2 separate regions of the Homo sapiens genome follow, and region 1 is linked to region 2. Evidence: promoter capture Hi-C in 16 types of primary human blood cells and fetal thymus (Javierre and others, 2016). All regions are on one chromosome and are shown on one strand. The core of a region is centred on a gene start or on the middle of the fragment in contact, and the rest is flanking DNA. Distances in the headings are between cores, read along the strand shown. Region 1 has its middle 14 kb from the start of DCAF16. Region 2 holds the start of CLRN2 (clarin 2).

Region 1 (4,307 bases), core at 458-2,957, 280 kb before region 2:
CTAGGACATATAGAACAGCCTGAGAAGTATGGATAACTTCTCAGACTTCATGAGTTAACTGTGCAAGCTGGTAACGTATCTGTCCGCCAGTGATACCCATTGGACTGAGGGAGTTACATTAGCTGGACCAACCACCAGTACTTCTATGTCAACTTGCTGTTGCTAAAAGAAAAATGTCTATGATGTGTCTCAAATAATTTTAAATACAGTTGAGTTAATGACTACATATTTGAGTCTGCTAATTCCATGCAGTTTGCCAAGCTCTTCCTTTCAATTAGCAGCCGCAGTGAGACTTAAGTTTGCAACTGAGACCAAGAAATGGAAAGGATGAGGATATACCACAGTGACCTGACACTTGCTGGCTTCCCATCTTCTGTGAGAGCTATGACCAGCTATTCTCAATGAGCTCTGGAAAATGAATGCCTGGTTTTCTTTTATTATTATTATTATTTTTTTATTTTTTTGACACAGGGTTTCGCTCTTGCCTAGGCTGGAGTGCAGGGGCATAATCTTGGCTCACCGCAGCCTCGACCTCCTGGGCTCAAGCCATCCTCCCACCTCAGCCTCATCAGTAGCTGTGGACTACAGGTGCACACCACCACACAGGCCAATTTTTGTATTTCTTTGTAGAGGCAGTTTCACTCAGGCTGGTCAGGAACTCCTGAGCTCAAGTGATCCTCCCACATCAGCCTCCCAAAGTGCTGGTGTTACACTGGTACCTGGTATAAAAAAAAAAAAAAAAAAAAAGGAAAATAACAGTGTAACAGGAAGACAGCGATAGGGTTATTTCTTCTAAACTGTGGAGTCAGTTAAAAACGTTAGCAACAGTTTCAAGTTGAATCATAAAACGAAGTTGACTGGAATTTGGGCAGTTTATTTAGGAAGATTCTGACACGTGATATGAAAATTCCTGGGATCATTAGGGGAGTTAGGCTCTATATAACAACAATCATTCAGGAGGGACTCAGGATACTGGTTAGCTTAACAAGATTAAAACTGACTTCCTAGTATACACATAAACCAAGCTAGTTTCTCAAATTAGCAACAGAAACCAGATGAAACTCCTCAAATGAGTGTTGCAAAATAAGGAGCTGGTACTATAGTTTTATTTGGGGAGAAATTGTTAAGTTTGGGTTAACTGCTCAGCCTATGCCTGATACTACCCTTCCATCTATGGTATCAGCTGTGGCACCTGACACTCCAATGTATCAGCTGATGGTTTTGGTTTACAATAAATTAATTAAGCAATGGACCAGTAGGGGCAACTTCTTTGAGAGGTACCCAAACAAGTGGAACAGCCCAAGGGCATGGCCATCTTCCATCAAAAAAGACCCTAGGTGGGCTTTCTGGTTGCACCCTGAGTAACCAGAATGGCCTGATAGACTGGCAGAGCTCTGGTGAAAGAAGGGTGCAGCCACTACCTGAAGAACTCTAATTTCTGAATCAATTGAAAGCTGGCATTAATGTTGGCCACAGACAATGCATTCCATGTAGACTTACTGCAAAGTGTGTTATATGATATTGATCCCTGTCTACCTACTTGGTACTTAAGTAGACTCCCATGGCTTGAAAGCTTTGGACCAGACCCCAGTTTCCTTCTTTGAATGCAGTTTTTCTGTGTTGTCACATCCTACTTGGGACACGTTTCTTTAAATGGGTTGGGTTGCCTGATGTAGCAAAAAGAAATACAGGACACCCGAATACATTTGAATTTCAGAAAAATAATGAAATATGGCACATATACCAGAAAAAAAGTTATGTTATTTATCTGAAATTCAAATTTAGTTTCCTGCATTTTATCTGCAACCCTATAAATATGTTAGTGGCATGGATTAAGCTTGGGTTTTAGTCTATGTAGTTGTTCCCAGGAACTGTCTTGACTCTTTCCAGTATGTGTTGTTTTCTTATGTCTAAGTAATTGACTAGTAGCCAGGAGCAGTGCTGGTGCACACCCGTAGTCCTAGCTACTCAGGAGGCTAAATTGGGAGGATTGCTTGAGCTGAGGAGTTTGAGGTTGCAGTGGGTTATGGTCATGCCACTGCACTCCAACATGGGCACCAGAGCAACCGCCCATCTCTAAAATAATAATATTTAATAATAAGAGACTGGGGGCAAGGAAGGCTCACACATAGTTGACCCAAGTTGTATTTCTTATATATTTATTTATTTATTTCTTAGAACTGTTGTTGAGTGTCAGAAGAGGAGGCCCAATTGCAGATATGAGAGTTTTTATAGGAGACACGTGGTATTTAGCTAAAATAACCACATAACCATTACAATATTTGCAAACACAAATTTTTTAAATGCTGTCTCAACAGCAGGTAGTTTGGGTTTGTGGTTTGTTGTCGTTGTGAGATGGAGACTCACCCTGTCGCCAGGCTGGAACGCAGTGGTGCGATCTCGGCTCACTGCAATCTCCACCTCCTGTGTTCAAGCAATTTCCCTGCCTTGGCCTCCTGAGTAGCTGGGACTACAGGTGCGCACCACCATGCCCAGCTAATTTTTTGTATTTTAGTAGAGATGGTTTCACCATGTTGGCCAGGATGGTCTCAATCTCCTGACCTCATGATCCACCCACCTGAGCCTCCCAAAGTGCTGGAATTACAGGCGTGAGCCACCGCACCTGGCCATCTGTGTGTGTTTTAAGCAGTTACTTTCTCACTCTTCTTTACCATGAAGGGAAAGTATATCACTCTTTAAAAACAAAAAATACTCGATAGGTAGCACAGTTATGATACCCATTCTTCATCACAGAAAAGGTTCACAAATTTGGAACACCTATCTTTGCCTTCCAGAACCCCCAAAAGACTTGAGGATTTAAAGGCACAAGGTACCCTGGAAGGTGGGAGTAATAAAGAAAGTTGAAACAAGGGGATTATTTGAACATTTATTTTTGCTCTTCTTTTGTAGGCAGGCAGCTATCTCTCTAGCAGATGACTGAAGCCTTATTGTCTGGAGAAATTAAACCAAACAGACTTAGAACTGAGGACAGGGGGAGGATGGTAATGGTAGTGATGTGCTATATGGAAGACAAAATGATTAACAGAATGTGAGTATTCTGAACATTATGAGCCTCCAGTCCACTTTTCTCCACCTGGCTACAGAATCTGGCAATGGGGCTTATACCCAGCCCTGCTCACCTGACCGAAAAAGACAAGCAGTAAAAAAACAGCTTGACCCTCGATTATTTGTTACAGTGAAACTGAGAGTCCACAAGGCCTGCTCCTTCATATACAGCTTTCAGTCACTTGGAATCACTGTACACAGATAGCCAAGGATCACTAGATATTTGAGGAAACCTTCAACATGAAAGATGAACATAAAGAAGCTGTGATATTCTCAGAAAGGAATATACTGCTTCCATCAAATAGGATCAGGATGCTATTTTAAAAAATGACCAATCCAAAAACAAAAGCTATTGGAAAAACAGGAAACCAAAAGTAAACATTCAGTAGATGTATTAGAAAATAACTTGAAGAAATTTTAAAAAGTAGAACAAAGAGATGAAAAGCAGGCAAGAACAAAAAAGAAACTTAAACCTGAATAAGATGCAACATCTAATAAATGAGTTCCAAAATGAGAGAACAGAGAAAGAAGGTGAAGAGAGAAAAAAATTAAAATAACATTTCCCGGAAATAATAAGACTTTAGTCTTCTAAATTAAAAGGGTCCACTAAGTGCCCTGTGAAATGAATTAAAAAATACCAAAGCACATTGTTAGGATATTTCAGAATGCTAGAGTTATGGAAGGACCTAAAAGCTTCCCAATAAATGTAGCGGAGAAAGTTACATAAAAAGGATACGTTTTCAAAATGGCATTTAGATTTCTTGGTAGCAACACTGGATGCGGAAAGACTATGAAAGCAAGGTCTTTAAATTTAAAAAGAAATGATTTCCAACGCAGAATTTTGTACTCAAATAATCCAATCAAGAGTGGGGCTAAAATAAAGATACCTTAAGACTTGCATGGTCTCAGAATTTTATCTCACCATCTACCTTTTCTTAGGAAGCCACTTGGAGGATGTGCTTTACCAAAATGAGGGAGTAATCTGAGAAGGCATGGGATCCTGAAACTAAAAGATGTCACAAAGGAAAACGAGGAAAGTCCCAGGATGACTACTGTGTCAAGTAAGTAGGACAGAGGTTCCAGGAAGTAGGTATCTAGGAAAACTGGGAACAAAGTATTTGAGTACAATGGAAAGTGTATAAATAAGCAGGAAATTTGAAATTTTATTTCTTAGAAAGTATGTTATTTAGTAATCAGTTTTTTAAAAATTTGACATTAAAAGTATAGGCAAATTGGAGTCT
Region 2 (4,517 bases), core at 1,246-3,745:
GATGAACCCAGGGGAATGTTTCCCATTGGTGTCCTTCTAAGAAGGAAGAAGGAGGAAGGCAAGAAGTACTTACTGAGTTCCTCCAAGGCTCAAACAAAATATGCATTTGTTTGCAGCTTCCTACTCGAAGCAGTTTACATTTCTGTGAGCTGGGAATGGCAGGGGTCTGGTCATTAGGTTAATGCTGGCATGTGACTGCTGTTTAATCTTCTCACCCCATTCAAGTTTCAACGATTTACCTGTTGGGGTTCAGAAACCAACACCCCTAAAATATGAAGCTTTGTGAAGAAGTCTCAAGGTCTCTCTGGCCTCCCCTCTCCCTCGTGTCTCTCCATTCTTTGTCTGTCTCATAAGCACAGGATGAGGTTGTTCTCTGACATTCCCTTACCTGCCTACATCCAGACCTACCAAAGAAAAAGACCTCTGGTCCCTTCCCTGAGTGTTCATTAATTGTACCCATATCACAGGAAGAAAGACTAAAGTCTGTTAACACAGCTGGACAGACTTTTGTCACAAACCAATGTCTGCTCTGTGGGCTCAACAGACTTTGTCCCAGCTCACTGTATGTTCTTTAAGCCCATTGAATTTCCCTAAAAATAATTTACTAGTCCCCTAAAATCATCCACACTTCCCCATCTCTCTTTCCCCTAAGATGAAGAGGATACAACCACCTGTACCCCATTGAGATAGCGGACAATCACTCTGTGATTTTTCCCCTATGCATGCTAATAAATGTGTAAGCCATTTTCCCTATTAATCTGCCTTTTGTCAGTAGATTGTTTAGAGAACCTTCAGAGTGCAAAGGGGAAGTTTTCTTGACCCCTAAAGTCCCGAAGACATCCTTTATAGCAAAGCATCTAGTTCAGAATCGAGTAGTCCATGTAGTTGTCATGGTTAGCTTTTAGCATTTCTTTTTTTTATTTGTTTATGTGTGTGTGTTTTCAAGTTTTATGTTATAATTTTGATGGAGCTATTTGTTCAATATCCAGGGTCTAATCTAATTGCTAGGTAAATATAAATATGCCCAGACATATTGATCTTGAATATACATAACAAATGTAAATTTTTGTGTGTTTAAATGATGACAATTTGTATTATATTTGTCAACGGTTCCAGCTTTTTGTCCTTATAAATTTAATACGACATTTACCTTGGCCAGATTTCTATAAACTACTACAATACTGAAATATAGAAATCAAGGAATGAATACAATTCTGTATCACCCTACATTGGCATGGTATTGATTAATTACGGTTTTGTGCAGACACTTTTCACCAGTGATCTCATCGATTCAAAAGGCTTGCAGAATATTGCCTGTTTTGTTTTTTCCTTTCCAGAAGCCCGTTCCTAAGTCCAGCTTGGATTCCTGTTTGTGCAGACTGCTCTGCTTACATCCTGGGCAGCTCTGATGCTACACTGAATGCCAGCCAAAGTCGGTGCCCGCTCACGTTCACAGAGAACAGGCAAGTGCCTTGCTTGAGGTCTCCCCACCAGTAAACTTTCCAGTAGGGGTTTCAGCCAGGGTAGTCTGATTCCAGAACCCAAGCACAGTGCCCCTTTGCATTTTCTCAGACTATGAAGCTTTTACAAAAGTAGATGTGGAAAGGGTCATCATGCTTCCCAAAGGTTCAGTTCTGCAGGCAGCCTCCACCCACTTGTTGTGGTCATGTGGCATGGGTCTGGAGTCCGGCTCTACTGTTTCCTGGCTGGGTGACCTCAGGTAAGTTATGTAACCTCTCCAAGCCTCAGTGTACTCCTCTGGAAAATGGGAACATTAACAATTCCTTCTGTATAACTTTGTTGTAAGGCTTTAAGGAGACAAGTGGCGTGAGGTGCTTACAATGTCTGACACGTGTAAACTCTCAATATTTTAATAGTCATAATTAATAGAGGTAAACTGCAAAAATGCACAAATCCTTATTTCTAATGTTTCTATACATCTCTACAGAAAAAGAAAAGGAAGCAAGGAAGGAAGGAAAGATCTTTTTGATGTGGATCCAGAACCCTTGGCTCACTGTGGACTTTGACATTATGCCTGACGTTGAGGCAGCAGCCAAATTCCACAATGAGACATAAGCACTCTTACACATTAACAAAAATGAGTGCCTAGAATCAGCTTTCATGCTCCCAATATACTCACTCGTGAATTGGGATTGGCGGCCCCCAAGCCCACACTGCCGCACTTTACACCCTCGGAAGAGCCCGTAGTAAATGTCCCCAATGAACTTGACCAGCTCTCTGTCTGTGGCGTTGACCAGATCCACTCCAGTCTGACAAAGGATTTTCCCACTCAGCCAGTGGGGCACTACCAGGGCAACGATGATCAGGATGAAGGAGGAGAAGCTGAGTAAAGACGCCAGCCCATACCACGCCTTTTTGAACCATCCAGGCATGCTAGTGGGTGCAGGTCATCCCCAAGGTCTCCGAGCAGCAGCGAGGGTCATTGACATCTTTCAGATACTCGGCAATGCTCTGCTCCAAGGTCAGCTCTTCCAAACACTCTGTTTCAAGGTTGTAGGTCCATCCTCTCGTCCTCCTTCAGCGCAAGCTTGCACAGTCCATGCTTCCTACAACCACATCCAGAAGCCTCTACAGAGACAATCTTCACCTGACTATGTAGCGGAGTGTGTTACTGAAGGAAGTAACCTTATATCTCCTCCTAGACTAATGTTTCAGCAGACTGTTTAACTGTTCCTCGTTTCAAGTATTTAAATAGCCCTGGTGTGGACCTCGTAATGATAAAGGAGTTAGTAATAAGCAAAATCAGGTAGCTCTGAAGATTAAGAGACGCAAACCAATCTCAAAAAATGCATGTGTTAGAAGGAAAACAAAAACAGAATGATTAGCACTTGAATATTGCCAACAATGCGCAGTATCAAATGTCGATCTCGCTGATGCATGGGTGCCCTGGCATTTCTTTCTCTGAAATGTCACTGCTGTCAGAATCTTTAGGACTGTTATTAATACCATCAAATGACCCCGGTTCTTGGGGCTTTAATATTGAAATGTGTAAATAGGGCCTTATGAATTTCTCACTGTGTGAATCTGCTGGGGGTAAACTGTGACTAGAATTACTTTGTGGCTGTTGGGGTAGCCTGGAATCCAACACTTAACATTGCTCTCACCCGTCCCTCCTTCTACGTTATCTGAAATGGGAGAGAAAAGTGTTTTTCTAGTGTATTAGCAAATAGTAGCCACACTGCTGGGGTATTCATCTCTTCTAATAGTGGAAGATCTAGGCTTTCCTTTTAATCTGTAGATACTAGGAATGAAATATTCTTTCCTTTCTATCTTATACTGTGGACTTTGACATTTTGACTTTTACCTTATTCCTGAATATCAACTTAACATCATGTGAGACTGGCAACAGTCACTCTATCCATATCTCTGGGGAGCAAAGTTGGGCAAAAGTGGAGCAGTAAAATTTCTTAGTTGGTCACAGAAGCCTGAAGGGGGGTTCAGGAAGTTGCACTGTTAACCAATAGGGGTCCCAGGAATCTCACTTGGAGAGTGTCAAGGAAGCAGAGGGACACATTAATGGAAATGTCAGTTTCCTTCCTCGCAACTGGGGCTCACTTCAGTGGCCACTCCACAATGAAAATAAAAATGAGAATTTCTGAGCCTGGGCAATGTAGTGAGACCTTATCTCTACAAAAAATAAAAAAAAAAAATAGTTGGGCCTGATGGCGTGTATTTGTAGTCCCAGCTACTGGAGGCTGAGGCTGGAAGACTGCTCCAGCCCAGGAGCTCAAGGCTGTAGTGAGCTATGATCATGCCACTCTGAGTAACAGAGTGAGATCCTGTCTCTTACTATATATACAGATGAGTGGCACTTTACCATGTACAAAATGCAAAATGCTTTGACCATATGCTTGCTCACCTCTGATGCTCCAGCAACCCTTTAAGGTAAACAGGAGATGCACGATTTCAGCCATTTCTCTCATGAAAAACTGGATGTCAGTGCTGGGGCTGAAATTCAGGTCTTTGAATTACAACAGCTCATCTTCATCCCAGTGACTTTGAAACAGCAAATGTTTTTCTGGTAAAAAATAACAGAATACATATAAAAGGCTCAGAAGACTGCTTGGCACATTAAGTGATCAATAATGTTAGTTCACGTTCTTATTTTAACATTAAGCATGCTTTGACAAGTCAGGACTTGCGTAAATATCATTGAGTCATATTTCTGCCGTCAGTGAGGGACCTGTGTCAACTTTTGGTGTTTTGAGGGTTAAGCAATTGTTTTCAGAAAAACTCTAAGGGAAACACTTGATTCCCAACAAGCCTTTGTCTTGCTGAACAAAGGTGTGGTTAAGTGGAACTCTAGCTATTGAAGACCTGTGTTCAAATTCCCACTCTTCCAGACAAGTGTCTGTGACTCTCATGCCTCAGCTTTCTAATCTGCATAGGATTATCGTGTGGAGTAAAGTGAAATAGCACAGGCAGATCACTTAGCGCAGTGCCTTGGATATAAGGAGCACTAAATAGATGGTGCTCTCCTCTCCATCCAGCCTCCT

The links. Contacts are between HindIII fragments. The CHiCAGO score rates a contact against its expected background, and 5 or more counts as called.
Region 1: a contact is called between a fragment that was not itself captured here and the fragment with the promoter of CLRN2 in region 2, in 1 of 17 cell types (M1 macrophages). The highest score is 6.5, in M1 macrophages.

The regions. Positions count from the first base shown.
Region 1 is chr4:17,794,751-17,799,057 of GRCh38, reverse strand. It overlaps a transcript of DCAF16 not described here. Among named protein-coding and RNA genes, the nearest start is that of DCAF16, 14 kb to the left of the region's middle. The HindIII fragment of the contact is 264 bases long and covers 1,576-1,839 here.
Region 2 is chr4:17,513,143-17,517,659 of GRCh38, reverse strand. It overlaps CLRN2 (clarin 2), which reads right to left and starts at 2,495. Exons shown (of 3, transcript NM_001079827.2): 1 at 2,141-2,495. The coding sequence starts at 2,393. The HindIII fragment of the contact is 967 bases long and covers 1,584-2,550 here.